Regions from separate parts of the Homo sapiens genome. Here regions 1, 3, 4, 5, 6 and 7 are each linked to region 2. The links are contacts of gene promoters, found by promoter capture Hi-C in blood cells and fetal thymus (Javierre and others, 2016). All regions are on one chromosome and are shown on one strand. Each heading gives the region's core, a stretch centred on a gene start or on the middle of the fragment in contact. The rest is flanking DNA. Distances are from core to core; before and after follow the strand shown.

Region 1 (2,700 bases), core at 165-2,664, 260 kb after region 2:
GATTTACAAGAATGAAAATACTTTATGCCATCCTCTTAAACATCACTCTGTGTCTGCTTATTCTTGTTTTTATTTCCACAGTCCTCATTTGGCACTTAAGCTTTTTTTTTTTAAAGTGGGAAACTTATATTTAGTTAAAAAATTTACATAATCCTCATTTGTTATCTTTATTTCCTCTATATTCATAGAATATATCTCAAGGATTTCATCATGCTTACATTTAGTAAAGTTCACATTGTCCTTTCTGCTCTTAGCTCCTCTATAGTTTCTTGAAATCTCAAGCTCAAATTCTACTTCCTGGGTAAAATCTTCCCTAGTACCTTTAGTTCTTCCTGATCCTTTCTCTTCTCTAATCACTTTGACACTTAATATAGTCACTCTAAAATTAGTATGTTCCATTAATAAGAGAGTATTATTCTATATTCTAATTGTATTTTGAATTCAGCATTTTATTATAATGGTATAGAGTGCTGATACATATACACATATTTATATTAGTATAGAGTGTTGCACATAGGAACATTTTCTTACACTCTGAATTAATTTTAGTGAGTTATCTTGGTTTCTTTTTTTAAGGGGTACATATTCTTGTTTGTTACATGGGTATTACATGCATAATGTTGCGTGTTGGGCTTCTGCTGTACTTATCACCCCAGTATTAGGCATTGTATCCAGTAGGTAATTTTTCAACCCTCCCCACCCACCTTTGGAGTCCCCAGAGTCTATTTTCTCTATTTTCATTTCCACATGTACCATTTCTTTAGCTCCCACTTACAAGTGAGAATACGTAATATTTTATTTTCTGCTTCTGGGTTAGTTGACTTTGGGTAATGGCCTCCAGCTCCATCCATGTTGCTGCAAAGGACATGATTTCATTCTTCTTTTATGATTGTGTAGTATTCCATTGTGTATATATACACCATATTTTCTTTATCCAGTCAACAGTTGGCAGACATGTAGGTGGATTCCATGACTTTGCTCTAATTGTAAATGGTGCTGCAATAAACACACAAGTACAAGTATCTTTTTGATATAATGATTTCTTTTCCTTTGGGTAGATACCCAGTAGTGGGATTGCTGGGTCGAATGATAGTTCTATTTTTAGTTATTTGAGATATCGCTATACCGTTTTCCATAGAGGTTGAATTAATTTACATTCCCACCAACAGTGTGTGAGTATTCCCTTTTCTCTGCATACACACCAATATCTGTTGTTTTTTGACTTTTTAATAAAAGCCATTCTGACTGGAGTGAGATGGTATCTCAATGTGGTTTTAATTTGCATTTCTCTGATGATTAGTGATGTTGAGCATTTTTTCATATGTTTGTTAGCTGTTTGTATTTCTTCTTCTGAGAAATGTCTGTTCATGTTCTTTGCCCCATTTTCAATTGGTTTGTTTTATGTTTGTTGAGTTGTTTGAATTTCTTGTAGATTCTGAATACTAATTCTTTGTTGGAGGTATAATTTGTAAATATTTTCTCCCATTCTGTGAGTTGTCTTTTTATCCTATTGATTATTTGTTTTGCTGTGCAGAAACTTTTAGTTTATGTCCTATTTCTCTATCTTCGTTTTTTATTGCGTTTGTGTTTGGAATCTTCATCATAAATTATTTGCCTAAGCCGATGTCCATAAGGAGTTTTCCTAGGTTTTCTTTTAGGATTTTTATAGTTTCAGTTTTGATAGTTTTACATTTAGGTCTTTAATCCATCTATAGTTAATTTTGTATATGTTAAGAGATGGGGAATTAGTTTCAGTCTTCTGCATATGGCTAGCCAGTTTTTCCAGCATCATTTATTGAATAGGGTGTCTATTTCCCATTGTTTATTTCTGTTGACTTTAATCGAAGATCAATTGGTTGTATATATGTAGCTTTATTTCTAGGTTAGAGAACCCCATACTGTACCATTAATCTCTGGGTTTATTTTTGTACTAGTACCATGCGATTTTAGTTACTATAGCCTTGTAGTATAATTTGAAGTCAGGCAATATAATGCCTCTGACTCTGTTCTTTTTGCTTGGGAGTTCCTTGGCTATTTGGGCTTTTTTTGGTTCCCTATGAACTTTAGGACTGTTTTTCCTAATTCTGTGAAAAACAAGGCTGGTAATTGGATAGGGATTGCATTGAATCTGTAGATTGCTTGGGTAATATGGTTATTTTAACCATATTAATTCTTCCAATTCATAGCATGGAATGTTTTTCCATTTATTTGTGTCATCTACAATTTCTTTCATCAGTGTTTTGTAGTTCTCCTTGTAGAGATCTTTCACCTCCTTGGTTAAATGTGTTCTGAAGTATTTTGGTCTTTTTCGTGGCTATCCTAAGTGGGATTGGATTCTTAATTTGGTTCTCAGCTTCAATGTTACTGTTTATAGAAATGCTACTGATTTTTGTACATTGATTTTGTATCCTGAGACTTTACTGAAGTTGTTAATCAGGCCAAGGAGTCTTCTAGAGGAGTCTTTAGGGTTTTCTAGGTATACAATCATATTGTCAGTGAACAGAGATAATTTGACTTCTACTTTTCCAATTCAGATGCCTTTTATTTTTTTCTCTTGCCTGATAGCTCTGGCCAGGACTTCCAGTACTATGTTGAATAGGAGTTATCTTGGTTTCTAACTTGAAACGTTATATAAATGTATGTATTTTTTGTGGTCTTTCAAACAATGCCACTTACATTGTGAATGCTCAGTAATGCAGA
Region 2 (2,700 bases), core at 152-2,651:
TATTTATTTATTTATTTATTTATTTATTTATTTATTTATTCATTATTTCATTCATTCATTCAAAGGCTCTATTGTGCTTACTTCCAAGAACGCTATTTATTTATTTATTTATTTTAGAGACGGGGTCTCACTCTGCCGCCCAGATTGGAGTACAGTGGTGCGATCCTGGCTCACTGCAACCTCTGCCTCCCGGGCTCAAGCGATTCTCATGTCAGCCTCCCGAGTAGCTGGGACTACAGGCTCCCGTCACCAGCCCAGCTAATTTTTGTATTTTTTAGTGGAGACAGGGTTTCACCAAGTTGGCCAGGCTGGTCTCGAACTCCTGGCCTCAAGTGATCCGCCCGCCTCGGCCTCAGAATCCCATGTTTTAAAAAAGTTTGTCTCCTACACTGCATTTATAGTTTTATTAATCAGGCACATAGAATTACCATTTCGGAGCTTGTGATCACCATATGTAGTTATCACTCCAAGCTGCTTAAATTCCAGTCTAAAACAAACAAAACATTCTAATTATTCTGTGCTACCCTGACAGGGGTAAGTGAAAACTTTCCATTCAGGTTTGTAAGAACGAGCTCCCAGACCTCCACCTCTTCCCCTTGCTGCCTCTGAGGACTCTTGGAGGTCTAGGGAGGCCAGTTTGGGTTTTCTTGCTCAAGAAAGTAGCCACCCCACCCAATTTGGAAGGATTAAAGCTTGTCCTAGTTTTGCTTCATTGTTGTACTTCTAGCATGCTAAAGAGCTAAAAAATGGGAGGAAGAAAATACAACAGAAGGCACCATTCCAGTACCAAACTGAAAAGAAACACAAAAACAAGAGAGCAGCATGTTTTTAACAGCTTGCGTGGAAAAAATATTGACTGGGGAGTTTGGACAGCACTGTTCATTTTCTCTCACCGCCCGCGTTATTTGTCTTACGGAGCAGGAGCCAGATACCATTCTGGAGAAAGAGCCGCGGGAAGAGGTGGAGGGGTTCTGTGGAAGTTTGAGTCTGAGCGGAGAAATTAGGGCTGGAGATCCAGTGGCTCAGGGCCAGGAAGAAGTCAGGGGAGGTGCTAAAGCCTTTTTCCTCCTGGCCTCGGGCACTCTCTTTGGTCCGCCTGAGTCTTAAGAGGGCACAGCGCAGATCATTCAGGTAGGTTCCTGGCTCCTTCAGACTACAACGAGCTGGATGAATCCCTGTCCCTGTTTCTTTCGGCTGGGGAAAGGACGCAGGGGTTCCATTCGCTTTCTTAGCCCACCCGTCTTCTTGAGTTCAGACCTACAACTCCTGCAGTGGGGGTCAGAAGGGAGCCTTAATCATCGGGACAGAAACGCGGCTCCCCAACTTCGGCTAAACCAGCGTGGCGGCCTTCGTCCCTACTGCCTGGGCGCGGGGCGGGGCCTGGGCGCGGGGCGGGAGGCGGTGACCAGCAGCAGGAGGAGAAAGAACATGGCGGGCGCATCAGAGCTCGGGACCGGCCCAGGAGCAGCGGGTGGAGATGGAGATGATTCGCTATACCCGATCGCGGTTTTAATCGACGAGCTCCGCAATGAAGACGTGCAGGTACTGGACTGAGGCCGGGGACCCGAGGCGAGACCGGCTGGTCGCGTGGTAGAGAAGGGGGAAGGCCTGCGTCGCGGTGGGGGTGGCCGAGGTACTGAATGAGTCGGACTCGTAGCAGAAACTTGAAGGGGAGGCGGGGAATGCTCCGCGAGGGGCTGTGGTGACACGCCCCGACCCTCCCGGGTACCTCTCTAGTAACCTTGCTTCGGACCCCCTGAGGCGTCCGCCCGGAGCCTTGCCCTTCCCGGGCGGTTGTCGGGGAACCCGCTTCCCGCCTGGGCGCCCCATCCGGGCCGTGAGGTGGCCGCGTCTCTTGGGCGAGGGAGCAGGAGAAGCGCGGTGCCAGGCCGAGACGGGGCTGGAGCGGCTGAGGGGCGCAGGATGCCCAGAAGCCCTTTGAAGTGCCCCTGGATCCCTTCATCTCGGCTTGGAACTGGCTCGGCTTGTTGGGTAGAAAGCGGGGGTGGGATGGCCGATTAATCTGGACGAGTAGTGTATCCGCTCTGTGGGAACTTTTCTTTGAAACCACAGGTGTTGTATTCAACCGTTTCACCTGCTTCACCACTGCCAAAGTGCTCTCTTTTTAAAATTATCTTACTTCCTAGGTGTTGTATTGTCTTTCCTTCATTTCTCTTCCGGTCCCTTCTGAGTGTTTCTCCTGGGAAATCCTCCGCCGGCTAGTGAGGCCGAGTTACACTTCTTTTTGGAAGTCCTTATGAGCTTCCTTAACAGTAAAATCTAAATGAAAGGTTATCTTCATTCTTACCCCTGTGTCATAATTTCACCTGTTAGCACCTTTTGTCTTTTGATCTAAATTCAGCCGTTTCTTTACATTGTTCTTCTTTCTACTTTCTTTTCTGAAGCTCCGACTCAACAGTATTAAGAAGTTATCAACAATTGCCCTAGCACTTGGAGTAGAAAGGACCCGAAGTGAATTGTTGCCATTTCTTACAGGTATGTGAATCTTTGTTTAAAGAAAGGTAGGGACATTCCATTTTCCAGTAGCTTTCAACACTGACTTTTTTAGAGTTTATTACCCACATTAAAATGAGCCAGGTGTTTTTTGTGCAAAAGAAACAGAACAGAGTATATTGTTAGTTGTGGCTAGATATATTCAAACATCAACCATTTAGCTATTGAAAGTAATTGATACGGGAG
Region 3 (2,700 bases), core at 74-2,573, 340 kb after region 2:
GAGTCTTCTGCCAGGAGGATCTATACAATGTGTAGATACAACCACTCTCAATCCAGTCCTCCTTTCCATTTTTTTTTCATTTCCCTTCCCTTCCTCTGTCACTGCTTTCATGGTTTCTTGGCAATTCTCACCTCTCTCTGGCTGGACCACCCACTTTCTCATTGTGGGAAGACACTGAGCATACCCCACATGAACTCATCACCCTCCTCCTTGTCCCGCTGTGCTCCTCTTGACACCCTGGTTTTTGGATAATGATGCCAACATTCTGTAAATCACCTAGGCACTAGAGCCCAGGTCAGTTTCTCCTTTTTTTTCTTTCTTTGAGACGAGGTCTGGCTCTGTCATCCAGGCTGCAGTGCAGTGGCGCAATCTCGGCTCACTGAATCCTCAACTTCCAGGGCTCACGTGATCCTCCCACCTCAGCCTCCCGAGTAGCTGGGACTGCAGGTGTGTGCCACCATGCCCAGCTATTTTTAAATTTTTTGTAGAGATGGGGTGTCACTATGTTACCCAGGCTAGTCTCAAACTGTTGAGCTCAAGCGATCTTCCCACCTTGGCCTCCCAAAGAGCTGCGATTATAGGCGTCAGCCACTGTGCCCGCCCTCAGATCCATTTCGATGCTTTTCTTGCCCTTGCTAGTTCCCAGATTGAGTGTAGTCTGCTTGGTTAGTATCTCTTGCATTCATACCCTATTTTTCTTCCTACCTACTGCTCTGATTTTGGTAATTATCTCTCATCTGGGTTACTACAGTAGTTTCTTAACTGAAATTTCAATATTTCCCGTCTTTCTTCTTAAGTTTTTCTTCTACTATCGGGCCAGATAAATCTTCTAAAAGGCGCTGATCATAACCTTGCAGCATTAAAAACTGTCATTAACTCTCCATTGCTAACCCCCAAGTCCCCAGGCTCCTTAAATGGTCAGCACTGGGGGCTCTCCAGTCTTCTTTTTCGACTGTATCCTTGGAGGGACTATGAGCTCCATGAGGCCAGGGCTCCTGTGTCTTTTGTGTATGTGTTTATCTCCATGATCAGCATGGAGCCTGCCTATGGTACAGAGTGCCTGGCATGCAGCAGGGCCTCAACAACACCTGTGAACCCCCTACCCAGAAATGCTGCCACTGTCTTCCAGGAATCCTTACTGCTTCTAAAAAATACCCTTCATTTTTCCTACCTCCTCCTTTGCACACGTTCTGCCTGGAATGCATGCCCCATGATAAAAGTTTGTTCCACACCTACCCATTTTCCCAGGTCCAGCCCAAATGGCGCCTTCCTTCATGTAGCCCTCTATGATTGTACAGAAGGACCTGCTCATCCGCTTTCTAAACTGCCATGGCAGTTTGTCCCCTCTCATGGCCCTTGACATCACATCTCTTCTCTAGTAAGGTTTGAGCTACTTGGGGACCGGGCTTGTTTTTATTAATCTTTTAAAGTACCTAATACAGCCTGGCTCACTGCAATCTCTATCTCCCAGGTTGCAGTGATTCTCCTGCATCAGCCTCTTGAGTAAGCTGGGATTACAGGCACCTGCCACCACGCCTGGCTAATTTTTGTATTTTCAGTAGAGACGGGGTTTCACCATATTGGTCAGGCTGGTCTCGAACTCTTGACCTCAGGTGATCTACCCACCTCGGGCTCTCAAAGTGTTGGGATTACAGGCGTCAGCCACTACATCTGGCCTAATTTTATTGAATTAATAAACAAATGCTTAAGTGACCGTAAATCTTTTATCTGCAGGCTTGGTTTATTAATAACCACATAACCTTACCACTTAATGATGATGAATGACTTTGAGGCCAGTTAGCATTCAGTTTATTGGCCTCAAATAAATGAATTATTTGGGTGGATTAACCAACTGTAATAAATGTGAACAAATTAGCACTGTCATCTTACAGCAAAAATTATATTGAGGTGAATTCCATGCCAAGTTGTGGGGCAGGACGCCCAGCATTTTCGCGTTAACTCATCATCTCCTTTCTCACCCCATGGTGTTCCTCTTGACTCCTTTGTTTTTAGATAGTGACACCAACATTTTGTAAGTCATCCAGCTCTAGAGCCCAGGCTAGTTTCCTTGCTTTCCTTGCCCTTGCTGCTTCCCAAATTGAGCATCATCTATCCGTGTCACTCTCAGTATCCTGGGGCACTGGATTGTATCGACTTGGGCTGTGGATGGGAGATGCCCTAAAGATGAACCTGTGAGGGCCTTTAGTGTTTCTCTAGCTAAGAGCTCTCTGAAGAACATGTTTCTTGCGATGGGCAGGATGGGAGAGGCTGGTCAAGCCTCTGAGCCTGTGCTCATTTCCCTTCACCTATTTTGCTCCTCCATGAGGCTTCTGTCACCACTGGTGGTGGTGGTTCTAAGGCTGTGGTGACCTGGGGAGGGTCTCTGTGGTGACTTAGCACCTGGGGAGGGAGAGGTCTGGCTTTCTCGGCCTCCTCTTCTGGCAGGGCCCTGAAAGGAGCTCAGGCCTCGGAGATTTCCTGGTTCCAATGTCCTTTCGTCTTAACAGTCCTCAGCTCACAGCTCCTCCAGAAAGTGGTCTTTATGTGTAAGGAGCTGAGTTTTCATCCTGGCATGTCTCTCATCTTTCTATGCCTTAATTTCCTCATCTGATGGTGATATCTATTTTTTGAGGGTGGTGGCATTGTTTTTGTGTATTAAATGAATGTCATATACTTTGAGAACCAAGCATGTTATATTAT
Region 4 (2,700 bases), core at 52-2,551, 320 kb after region 2:
TGTAGGTACATAGTAGGTGTATATATTTATGGGGTATTATGTATTAAAACATCTCATGTGTCAAAAAACATATCCTTTGAGTTACCAACAATTCAATAACAATCTTTAAGTTAGTTTAAAATGTGCAATGAAGTTATTATCGACTATAGTCACCCTGTTGTGCTATCAAATAGTAGGTCTTATTCATTCTTTCTATTTGTTTTGGTACCCATTAACCATCCCCACCTTCCCTCCCAGCCCCCCACTACTCTTCCCAGCATCGGGTAACCATCCTTCTACTCTCTATGTCCATGAATTCAATTGTTTTGATCTTTAGATTCCACAAATAAGTGAGACATTGCCTCTTAGGACTCTCCTGTTTCTTTTCCTTTCTCTCCTATGTCTTCTCTCCCCTCCCCTCCCCTGCCTTCCCCTCCCCTTCTCTCCTCTTCCCTCCCTCTCCTCTCCTCTCTCTCTGTCTCTCAGTCACACATACATACACACACTGTCTCTACACACACACACACACACACACACACACCCCTCAGGGTAGTGGTTTGAATTAATTACACTCAGTTCATGGAACATTGTCATTGCTGGTGTGGTTTGGGCAGGAAACTTCTCCTATTTTGTTCATTTATTTTTCTCCATTTATTCTTATTTCCATCTCCCCATAAAAAATAATTCTGTTAAACCAAATGTGTGTCTGTGAGTTCCTGCAAAGCAGGCATCGTTTAGGCACATGTCCGTTTTAAATGCTTGCAGAGGTGGTTGTGCTGTCTCACCCTGGTTTCTTACTCCCCACTCTGCACTGTTTTAAATACTCACCTGTGTTGCTAAGCGTCCTCGAGCTGGAGGCTTCTAAGTGAGGCTTCCTGCTTCATCTATGCCCATACCTAAAGACCACGCTTTCTGATTGCTGCCCTACACTTGTTGCACCCAGGTCCTCGTCCTGTTGCCCCCAGCTGTCTGACTTTCACTGTATCCCCAAACTGCCTTCTCTCAGGACCCTGGCAGTGCCCCCGGGATGTCACTTTCAGTTCTGATTTTACCTGACTTTCCACTGGTCTGACAGGTGGGGGACGACTTAATTTCCATGATCCCAAAGTCCCTTTTGTCTCTCTTTTTTTTCCCTCTGTTTTTAAGTTATGTAAGTTTTTCCTAGAATGTGCTGATATTTTTTTGAAAAACTTTATTTTTTAAGAACAGTTTTAGATTTACAGAAAAATTTCAAAAGATAGTACAGTGTTCTCATATACCTCACACCCAGCTTCTTCTCTTATTAACTGCTTACATTAATATGGTACATTTGTTATAATTAATGAACCAATACATTATTATTAACTGAAACCCATACTTTGTTCTGATTTCCTTAGTTTTACCTATTGTCTTTTTCTGTTCCAGGACCACATATGACATCCAGTCATCATGTCTGCTTTGCCTACTCTCAGTTGAGAGAATTTCTCAAATTTTCCTTGTTTTTGATGACCTTGACAGTTTTGAGGAATGTTGGTCAGATATTTTGTAGAATGTTCCTCAGTTAGGATTTATCTGATGTTTTTCTAACGCTTGGACTGGAGGTGTGGGTTTTTGAGAGGAAGACCACAGAGGCAAGGTGCCATTTTCATCACGTTGTATGAAGGGTACATGCAATCAACATGATGTATCACTGTTGGTGTTGACCTTGATCACCTGGCTGAGGTAGCGTTGGCCAGGTTTCCTCCACTGTAGAGGTTACTCTTTTTCCCTTTCCACACTATGCTCATTGGAAGAAAATCACTATGTACAGCCCACACTTAAGGAGTGGGCAGTTGCCTTATCCCTCCCCGAGGGTGGAATTAAGTTATTTGAAATTAACGTAAGTTAATCGAATGCAAGTTATTTGAGATTCTTCTGCATGTGAGATTTGTTGCTTCTTCATTTTTATTTATTCACGTGAACATTTATTTATATCAATATGGACTTATAGGTATTCATTTCATACTTTAGATTTAGATAGAGAGTTTTTTTTTTTCCCTGTCTTTCAAAATGATCCAGTGCTGGTTGTTGTGAGCTCTGCCAGTGGGCTACGGGGTCCTTTGGACATACCTCATGATTGTGGGTTGTTGTTGTTGTTGTTGTTGTTTTTCGAGTACTTCCTTATATTTTTGGCACTATAAGATGCCCCAGGCTCATCTGGTGTGTGTGTGTGTGTGTGTGTGTGTGTGTGTGTATACATTTTTTTTGAAACAATCTTACTCTGTCATGCAGGCTGGAGTGCAGTGACTCGATCTTGGCTCACTGCAACCTCCACCTCCCTGGCTCAAGTGATTCTCTTGCCTCGACCTCCTGAGTAGCTGGGACTACAGCTGTGCACCACCATGCCTGGCTAATTTTTTGTATTTTTATAGAAATGGGGTTTCACCATGTTGGCCAGGCTGGTCTCAAACTCCTGACCTCAAGTGATCCACCTGCCTCGACCTCCCAAATTGCTGGGATTACAGACGTGAGCCACCGCACCTGATCTCATCTCGTATATTTCCTGTCCCCGTCCTAGAATTGGCCATATCCCCAAGGAGTTCTGGTTCCTTTTTATTGGAGAATGTTATTAGAAACCAAAGTCTGGGTGTTAGCTATGCTCTGGTCTCTTATGTTCAACTCACTTTTCTTTCTTTTTTTGTTTTTTGAGATGGAGTCTTGCTCTGTCACCCAGGCTGGAGTACACTGGTGCGATCTCGGCTC
Region 5 (2,700 bases), core at 44-2,543, 400 kb before region 2:
AACAAACAAAAAAACAAACAAACTTCCTTCAAAATAACTTTTTATCTGCAATGTTTTCCTATTGCCTGTGAGATTAAATTTACTCTTTTACCTGATTTCCAAAGCCCTCCATAATCTAATCCGACTTTACCTTGTGTTCACTGCAAAATAGCAGGACTGTTCCACTACAATCCAAAAATCACAGGTTGGGTGCAGTGGCTCACTCCTGTAATCCCAACACTTTGGAAGGCCAAGGCAGGTGGATTGCTTCAGCTCAGGAGTTCAAGACCAGCCTGGGCAACATGGCAAAAACCCTGTCTCTCCAAAACATACAAAAATTAGCCAGATGTGGTAGTATGTGCCTGTAGTCCCAACTACTCAAAAGGCTAAGGCAAGAGGATCACTTGAGCCCAGGAGGTCAAGGCTACAGTGAGCCATGTTTGCTGTGTCACTGCACTCCAGCCTGGGTGATAGAGCAAGACCATGTCTCAAAAAAAAAAAAAAAAAGAAAAGAAAAGAAAAAAACATCGCTCTATTCAGTTCACCCCCACCACAACATTGTTTTGATTATCACATAAATGCTGGTCCATTGCCTTCTCTATCTATTCAAATCTTTAAGCATTCTTTGAGATTCAACTCAATTCTCCTTTTCAAACTAGGCCATTTAAACTACATCAGTTCCATTTTGATTTTTTTGCTTTGAGTCTACAGACTCAAAAACAAAAACTTAAAAACTTATTTTTTAAGTTTTCTGCTACTCTCACCTCTTCAACACTCACATACACGCATTCATAATAAGATGGCAGAATGTTCAAGGATAAAATGATTTATAGAACTGAAAAGTTAGGTTTTGATCTTGTTGCTGTCAAGATGACTACCTACCTGATCTCAGGTAATTAATTATGTAGCATGCTCCCTCATTTCATCCCATACCTATTCAACAGGATTGGAATTCCACAGCAAGGATAAACATAATCATAGTTGCTTTTCAAGTTCAAGGCATTTTAACTTTTAATCTAGTAGTATGTTTGTTGTTGTTGTTGTTGTTTGAGATGGAGCCCTGCTGTGTCACCCAGGCTGGAGTGCAGTGGCACGAACTCGGCTCACTGCAACCTCTGCCTCATGGGTTCAATCAGTTATTCTGCCTCAGTGTCCCAAGTAGCTGGGACTACAAGGCACATGCCACCATGCCTGGCTAATTTTTGTATTTTTAGTAGAAACAGGGTTTCACCATGTTGGCCAGGCTGGTCTCGAACTCCTGACCTCAAGTGATCCAGCCGCCTCGGCCTCCCAAAGTGCTGGTATTACAGGCATAAGCCACCGTGCCCAGCCTAATAGTATGTTTTTAAACTCTTAGTGGCTTAACAATGCTGGTTGTATAATAAATATGCCATAAATATTTACTGTCTTAGAATTATGAAGAAGTGGTTACTAGGCCGTTTGCCACATATCAATGGTTCTCTCCTTACAGCTTTAACTAGAGTCTAGAATTGCAGGTTGGTAGAGCTGGAACAGACCTTAAAGACTGACTAGCCAACTTCCTTGTCCAAATGAGGGAACTGAGACCCTTAAAATTAAGTGACTTGCCCCAGACAAAACTGGAACTCATGTGTCCTAATTTCCATCATGAAATTCTACCATTCACTAGCCTCTGGCTAGTTGTCAAAGTATTGCATAACTAAATTTTTATGTCTGTTTTAAAGAACAAATTGTCACTGCTTACTCCTGGGAGGATCTTTCTGAGGTGGTTTATAACTCTTAAAAAAAAAAAAAGTCAGTAGTCTGAGAATTTTAGATGAAATAGTCAAAGCATTTTTATCCAATGGATACTATAATTTTCATAGATTAGAGTTAAAGCAAAGAAACACGGATGAGAAAGGAAGAGGAAAATTGAGGAGAGGAGGAATGGGGATGAGAACACACTACTTGTAATCAGTCATAGATGTATTGAGAACTAACAAGAAGAATTGTAAGAAAATAAGAATGAAGAATTCAAAATCAACACATGAAATAAAAAAGAAACTACTAGGGAAAAATGGAGAAGACATTAGAAAAATTATTCTATTTTTAAAATTCTGTTTTCAGGCTTCCCTCCTGTTCTTCCTCCTTCTCATTGGCTTTCAGGTGGAGGGAAAGTTTAAGATAGAAAAAATATATATATTCTACACATCCCTTTCTACGCTGTTGTCATGGCAACAAGGTTTATCATAGCAAACTTTTATTCATACAACATTTATTGAGTTCTTACTGTGTGGTAAGCTCTTTCCAGGTGTTGAAAATTCAGGGGAAAAAAGACAACTCATTGTCTTAAAACTCAGATGAAAGCTGAACAGACCTATTTTTAATCAAAGTAATCTCAATTTAGGGTAGTAAGAGCTATTTAAGAAGCATGAACAGGTGTGAAGGAGGTAGGACTCTGAGGAGAGAATAATTAGCTAGGAATGAAAGAGCAGAGAAGTTTTCCTAGAGGAACTATTAAAGCTGGGAGTTACGGGATGAAAGATGAGGCAGGGTTTGCAGGCAAAAAAAAAAAAAAGGCAGGGGAAGGGGAAGTTCTGGCCTGGCAGAGAGAATAACTGTGGCAACAATGGAGGAGAGTCTGGAAGCAAGAAAACCAAGTAGAAGAGTATTAAAATAGAAGATGCCAGGGGTAATGAGGGCTTGATTTAAAACAGTGCTGTTGGAGATGGAGAGGAGATACCAAATTCTGGAGACATTTCT
Region 6 (2,700 bases), core at 182-2,681, 390 kb after region 2:
AGAAATCTTCAAGCCCCAACCAATGGATTTGAGATTTGCTTGATGGGCCAATTGGATGAAGAAGTCACTCCATCTGTAGATTCTCTCCCTGGGTTCTGGACTTGGACCTGCTGGTCAGGTGCACATGTGAAGAATTACCATCCCTCCCCAGCTAGTAACAGTGTAGTGGAAATAGCAGGAACCTTGGAGGGAGACAGGTCTGAAAGTTGCCTGTGCAACTTAGTTCTTTCTTTGTGAGAAGGAAATTTCCATTCATTTCCTTATCTGGGAAGTGGGGATTCTAATGTCTGCCTCCCAAGGTTTTTGTGAGAATTAAAGTAGAGAATGTAGGTAAAATGATAGCAAGTTTCCTGATAAGTAGTGGTAGGGATGAGTTAGTACCTTCCGTCCTGGAAACCACCTGTGGGCCCATCTTGAATGATCAGTGTTATGTTAAATTCATATATTCTTTTCCACACTTTGATTAGAATAGTTAAAAAGCCACAGTCTAAATATTCTTGGGTGATAGGATATTGCAAAATTTTCCAAGGGTCTAAAATAGTGGTCTGCAAACTATGGCCTCTGTGCCAAATCAGGCCTGCCACTCCATTTGTAAATAAAGTTTTATTGGAACACAGCTCTGTCTATCATTTGAATATTGTCTAGGGCTGCTTTTGCAGAGTTGAGTAGTTGTGACAGAGACTGTGCAGCATACAAAGCCTAAAATATTTTCTCTCTGGCTTATAATAGAAAAACATTGCCAACCTCTGGTCTGAGATGATTTGCTTGGTTCTTCAGGCATTCATTTCCTTAAGATACTCAGTATCAGGCCGGGTGCGGTGGCGGGCGCCTGTAATCCCAGCACTTTGGGAGGCCAAGGCGGGCAGATCACGAGGTCAGGAGATCGAGACCATCCTGGCTAACATGGTGAAACCCCGTCTCTACTAAAAATACAAAAAAATTAGCTGGGGTTGTGGTGGCAGGCCCCTGTAGTCCCAGCTACTCGGGAGGCTGAGGCAGGAGAATGGCATGAACCCGGGAGGCGGAGCTTACAGTGAGCCGAGATCGTGCCACTGCACTCCAGCCTGGGGTACAGAGCGAGACTCCGCCTCAAAAAAAAAAAAAAAAAAAAAAAAGATACTCAGTATCCTGGGGTTGTACATTGCCAACACCAATGGGAAATAAAACTTGCAGCCAATTCATTAAATAATTTGTACAATGCCCCAAACTGATTTGATTGAATTTCTTCCTTAAAAGTGATAGAACTGTGTATAATAAACTGAACTCCATTTGTTAGAAAGTGAACAAATTGGACAGTTGCTTTTTATTGTTGTTGTTTGTATTAGGGAACAATCTACATGCTAATGAAAGGCAGGCTTGACTGATTTTCTTTGGACTGGCTGATTGTCTTGGTGTCCTGTGGACTTGGCCTTGGAACAGGAAATAATTCGTATCAGATTATTATGTCATGGATATGCCTTTGCTTTCAGACAACTTGAACAGAGCAGAGATTTAGCAAACAGAAAAATTAAGGACTTAAAATTCTCATCAACATAGAACTCTGCTCTTCAGATGTACTCTAGGGTTCCACTAAAGAGCCAATATTGTTTGGGAGGCAGTTAAAGATAAGTAAAATGTGTACTATGCATATAATTTTTGGAAGCCTATCTCCTACATAAATTTAAGCACAACTTACAATGAGAGGTAATTTAGGTTTCTGGACAACCTCTAATATTTCTATTCTATGTTACAACCTTTGCTTATTTAATAAGCCTAGTGAGCACCTTTACTTCTTACCAAGTTGATTCCATTGATTCAGCAGTTCTTTTTTTGAGATAGAGTCTTGCTCTGTCACCCAGGCTGCAATGTAGTGGTGCAAGATCAGCTCACTGCAACCTCTGCCTCCAAATTCAAGTGATTCTCCTGCCTCAGCCTCCTGTGTAGCTGAGATTATAGGCACATGCCACAATGCCCAGCTAATTTTGCATTTTCATTGGAGATGGAGTTTCACTATGTTGGCCAGGCTGGTCTCGAACTCCTGACCTCGAGTGATCCACCTGCCTTGGCCTCCCAAAGTGCTGGGATTACAGGTGTGAACCACCACGCCTGGCCAATTAAGCAGTTCTTGCTGTTAAGGGCAAGTAGAATCCAAAAGAGAGACACAAATTCACGTGCACTGTCTGGAGGTGAAATAAAGGACAAACATCAACCAAATACACAGATTTAATTGGTAAAAAAGCAGATGATGTTCTTGATGGATATTTTACTTCCTGCCCCTTATATTTATTTACTAAAGAAAATGCCAGATTTGTCCCCAAAGTTACTGACTCAGAAGTTTTGAAAGCTCTCTCCCAATTCACACTTGGGATTCTGTTCTTTCATGAGGAACCAAAAAAAAAAAAAAAAAAAATCAAGTTTGCCTACAGCTGTTCATTAAATATGTGGACATTTAATTCATAAAGAAGTCTTATAAATATTTGCTTTTAACTTTCCCATTACAAAGTGTTTTTTCCCCCTTTGACATCTTTCTAAAGTAGTTTATCTTCCCACTTAATGAAGATGTCCACCTATTTCTTATTCTGAGCCAACCAAACCAAAGTTGGCTAATTGATTATGAACATTAACATAATTCTCACCTTTATGAAATGCTTAATAACACTCTAGTTTTCTCATTTTTGTAGAACTGCTTGACAACTAAGTGAGCCTACCTGGGATGGGGAG
Region 7 (2,700 bases), core at 1-2,500, 260 kb before region 2:
CATCCGAAAGGGTGAGACGGGGCCTAAGAGATGACAAGGGCACGACCGAGGGGGAGGGGCCTAAAAAGGCGCAGAGACGCGGGTTAATTGCGGCCGAGTGGCCTGAGAGTCTGGGCCGAGGGGCGTGGCCAAGCTTTCTGGAAAAGCTGGAAGTGAGCCCGGGAACTGGCTAGGGCAGTGGGAGCCTCAGGCCAAAGGGCGGGGGTCTTGGAGTGCTGGGGTGGTGAAGGAGCCAGGAATCGCCCGCGAGGGAATCGAGGGGTCCGGCGTGGTGACCTCTGCTTCTGCGCATCCGAAGGGGGATGGACTGGGCCGCGCCCCGCGCAGGCTGTACTGGTTGCAAAGATTTCGTTTCAGGTTTGTAGCCCAAGTGGAAAGTGGAGTGAACAGGTGTTCCACCCAGCCAAGTGGTAACGAAAGGCAGCCCAGAGGAAGATACATTCCCGCATTCATGTATACTGTAGCAAGATTAAGCATATTCCCTGTATGAAGATATAGGTTTACAAAACAGGTGTTGCTCCCTAATACCATAGAATTCTTTTAAGTAACCAAAAGCTTCGTTATGTTTCAAATGTTTGAAAAACTTAACTGTAAGCCGTTGAAGGCATGAAGAGTGTCTGCGTGGTCCTTCCATGTAGCCCCAGAGCTTAATATCCAGTAAATAGCGGGGGCTGAATGTATGTCTTTTGAATCAATGAATAAAAAGTCATCTACACATTTTGTTAGGCACGCTTCTCTTGTAAAGTTGTCTTTTAATTAGAAAACATATCGTTTCTGAACTGAAGGTGACATTAGATAAGGAGGAAGCATGTGCTGTGTATCACCACCTCCCCCCTGTAGAGATGGTTAGAGAACACCAAGAACGCAAGAGGAAGTTGGAGGGAAGAAACTTAAAACAAGATTTTAGCCAGGAGCGGTGGTGCATGCCTGTAGTCCCAGCAATGCTTGAGAGGCTGAGGTGGGGGAATCACTTGAGCCCAAGAGTTTGAGACCAGCCTGGGCAACATAATGAGACTCCCATCTGTTAAAAAAAAAAAAAAATGGGGGCTAATCTTGCTAACAATTAATTTGGAAAACTAAAACAGATTGGATGTACTATTTCATGCCTACTTAAATTGGAATGTTTAAGCAGGTACAGCTGTCTATCAGAATAATATGTAAGCAATATAATTGAGAAATATAAAATTTCTAGATTGAATGAAAAGGCATATTTTAAATAATATGAAGAGAGCAATTATATTGTTACAATTATGTACAACTTATGAATTAACAATTGGAAGAAGCAATGAAAGAATAATTGTAATTACTGAAAGGACTTATTACTATTATTTGGGGATGGAGTCTCACTCTGTCGCCCAGGCTGGAGTGCAGTGGCATGATCCCGGCTCACTGCAACCTCCACCTCCCAGGTTCAAGCGATTCTCCTGCCTCAGCCTCCCGAGTGCTGGGATTACAGGCACGTGCCACCATGCCCAGCTAATTTTGTGTTTTTAGTAGATACGGGGTTTCACCATGTTAGTCATGCTGGTCTCAAACTCCTGACTTCAGGTGATCCACCTGCCTCGGCCTCCCAAAGTGCTGAGATTACAGGCGCGAGCCACCATGCCCGCCCAGGACTTATAAATTATTATAAAAATGTTTTTGAGTTGGCTAAAATATCTTGCTGCTTTTGCTGCATTTGAACTTAATAACTGGATCTAAATTAGACTTTGGTATAAAGTATGAGGTGATCTTCCGGATCTGTTGTGCACTTAGGTATGCTTGCTTAAACCCTGTTTTGCATTTTTCAAAGAATAGCGAGTTTGTGTCTTGAATATACTTTTGACTTAAGTGTAGTTAAATTATAGGAATGCATAGCTCAAACAGTCCAGAGATGGCGAGCTTACCCCAGAGGTGGGCTAGGAATGCTTAGGTTTCTCAAATCAGTCCTGAGAGAACAAGCTTGAATTCCACTAAACAGACTGGATAAAGGAAATTATGGAAAAGGAGACTCAAGACTCAAAGGTTTGAAATAGAGATACTTAAGAGAATGGTGATATCACTGATATTGAGAGAAACAGAAATTAGTTGGTAGTGAAAGATTTTGAGTTATGTACATATTTAATTTTAACATAATGGGATAGCCAATTAATAGTTGAAAATACGTAATTGGAAGTCAAATGAAGGCACTCAGGGATAAAGAATTTAATATAGCAAACATTTAAGATGAATTGATAAGAGGCATTTAAGAGGCAGCTTTCAAATGATCTGGGAATTCTGGTCATTTTAAATACACATTTCTGAAAGAGTTCTTAATGCTTGCATACTGACTTTTGTCATAGAGTTTATACTCTTGGGTTCTTATTTGTTTGCATGTTTACATATAATTTCAAAATAAGTGCTAAATAAATTGTCCTTGATAATAGCCTATGTGCTTACATAGAAATACTAATTGTAAAATATCTGTAGCAATAAAGTAATTCTTATCTCCACTCCACATAGTGAGTAAACATGCTACCAGGGAGATCACTTGAGGAAATTTGCTTTCACTAAATGTAAATGGCTTTATTGATTAATCTCATCAGTAAACGCAAGTGAAAATCATTAATGATATTTAGTTTGCAAACCCCATTTTATTCATAGTTTGTGGTTTTTTAAATTAGTTCACAAATCTGGTACATACCGGCAGTTAAAACTGGTTATCACTTTGATAATCAGAAG

The links. Contacts are between HindIII fragments. The CHiCAGO score rates a contact against its expected background, and 5 or more counts as called.
Region 1: a contact is called between a fragment that was not itself captured here and the fragment with the promoter of PPP2R1B in region 2, in 1 of 17 cell types (fetal thymus). The highest score is 6.0, in fetal thymus.
Region 3: a fragment that was not itself captured here is called in contact with the fragment with the promoter of PPP2R1B in region 2 in 1 of 17 cell types (fetal thymus); the score reaches 5.9 in fetal thymus.
Region 4: a fragment that was not itself captured here is called in contact with the fragment with the promoter of PPP2R1B in region 2 in 5 of 17 cell types (fetal thymus, naive CD8 T cells, activated CD4 T cells and 2 more); the score reaches 8.5 in fetal thymus.
Region 5: a contact is called between a fragment that was not itself captured here and the fragment with the promoter of PPP2R1B in region 2, in 1 of 17 cell types (neutrophils). The highest score is 6.4, in neutrophils.
Region 6: a contact is called between a fragment that was not itself captured here and the fragment with the promoter of PPP2R1B in region 2, in 1 of 17 cell types (activated CD4 T cells). The highest score is 5.4, in activated CD4 T cells.
Region 7: a contact is called between a fragment that was not itself captured here and the fragment with the promoter of PPP2R1B in region 2, in 7 of 17 cell types (total CD8 T cells, total CD4 T cells, naive CD4 T cells and 4 more). The highest score is 7.6, in total CD8 T cells.

The regions. Positions count from the first base shown.
Region 1 is chr11:111,504,486-111,507,185 of GRCh38, reverse strand. The region is part of intron 1 of BTG4 (BTG anti-proliferation factor 4); the gene reads left to right. Among named protein-coding and RNA genes, the nearest start is that of MIR34BHG, 4.8 kb to the left of the region's middle. The HindIII fragment of the contact is 2,624 bases long and covers 103-2,700 here.
Region 2 is chr11:111,765,090-111,767,789 of GRCh38, reverse strand. It overlaps PPP2R1B (protein phosphatase 2 scaffold subunit Abeta), which reads left to right and starts at 1,401. Exons shown (of 15, transcript NM_002716.5): 1 at 1,401-1,542; 2 at 2,406-2,496. The coding sequence starts at 1,429. RefSeq lists enhancers at 1,336-1,385, 1,406-1,585, 1,472-2,375. The HindIII fragment of the contact is 3,920 bases long and covers 695-2,700 here.
Region 3 is chr11:111,423,653-111,426,352 of GRCh38, reverse strand. It overlaps a transcript of BTG4 not described here. Among named protein-coding and RNA genes, the nearest start is that of POU2AF1, 46 kb to the right of the region's middle. The HindIII fragment of the contact is 8,409 bases long and covers 1-2,700 here.
Region 4 is chr11:111,442,003-111,444,702 of GRCh38, reverse strand. It overlaps a transcript of BTG4 not described here. Among named protein-coding and RNA genes, the nearest start is that of POU2AF1, 64 kb to the right of the region's middle. The HindIII fragment of the contact is 5,404 bases long and covers 1-2,700 here.
Region 5 is chr11:112,160,128-112,162,827 of GRCh38, reverse strand. All of the region lies in intron 1 of IL18 (interleukin 18), which reads left to right. Among named protein-coding and RNA genes, the nearest start is that of IL18, 2.6 kb to the left of the region's middle. The HindIII fragment of the contact is 3,599 bases long and covers 1-2,700 here.
Region 6 is chr11:111,373,806-111,376,505 of GRCh38, reverse strand. The region is part of intron 1 of POU2AF1 (POU class 2 homeobox associating factor 1); the gene reads left to right. Among named protein-coding and RNA genes, the nearest start is that of POU2AF1, 4.1 kb to the left of the region's middle. The HindIII fragment of the contact is 6,311 bases long and covers 1-2,700 here.
Region 7 is chr11:112,022,477-112,025,176 of GRCh38, reverse strand. It overlaps DIXDC1 (DIX domain containing 1), which reads right to left. Exons shown (of 20, transcript NM_001037954.4): 20 at 2,524-2,700. Among named protein-coding and RNA genes, the nearest start is that of DLAT, 1.6 kb to the left of the region's middle. RefSeq lists an enhancer at 618-807. The HindIII fragment of the contact is 1,386 bases long and covers 558-1,943 here.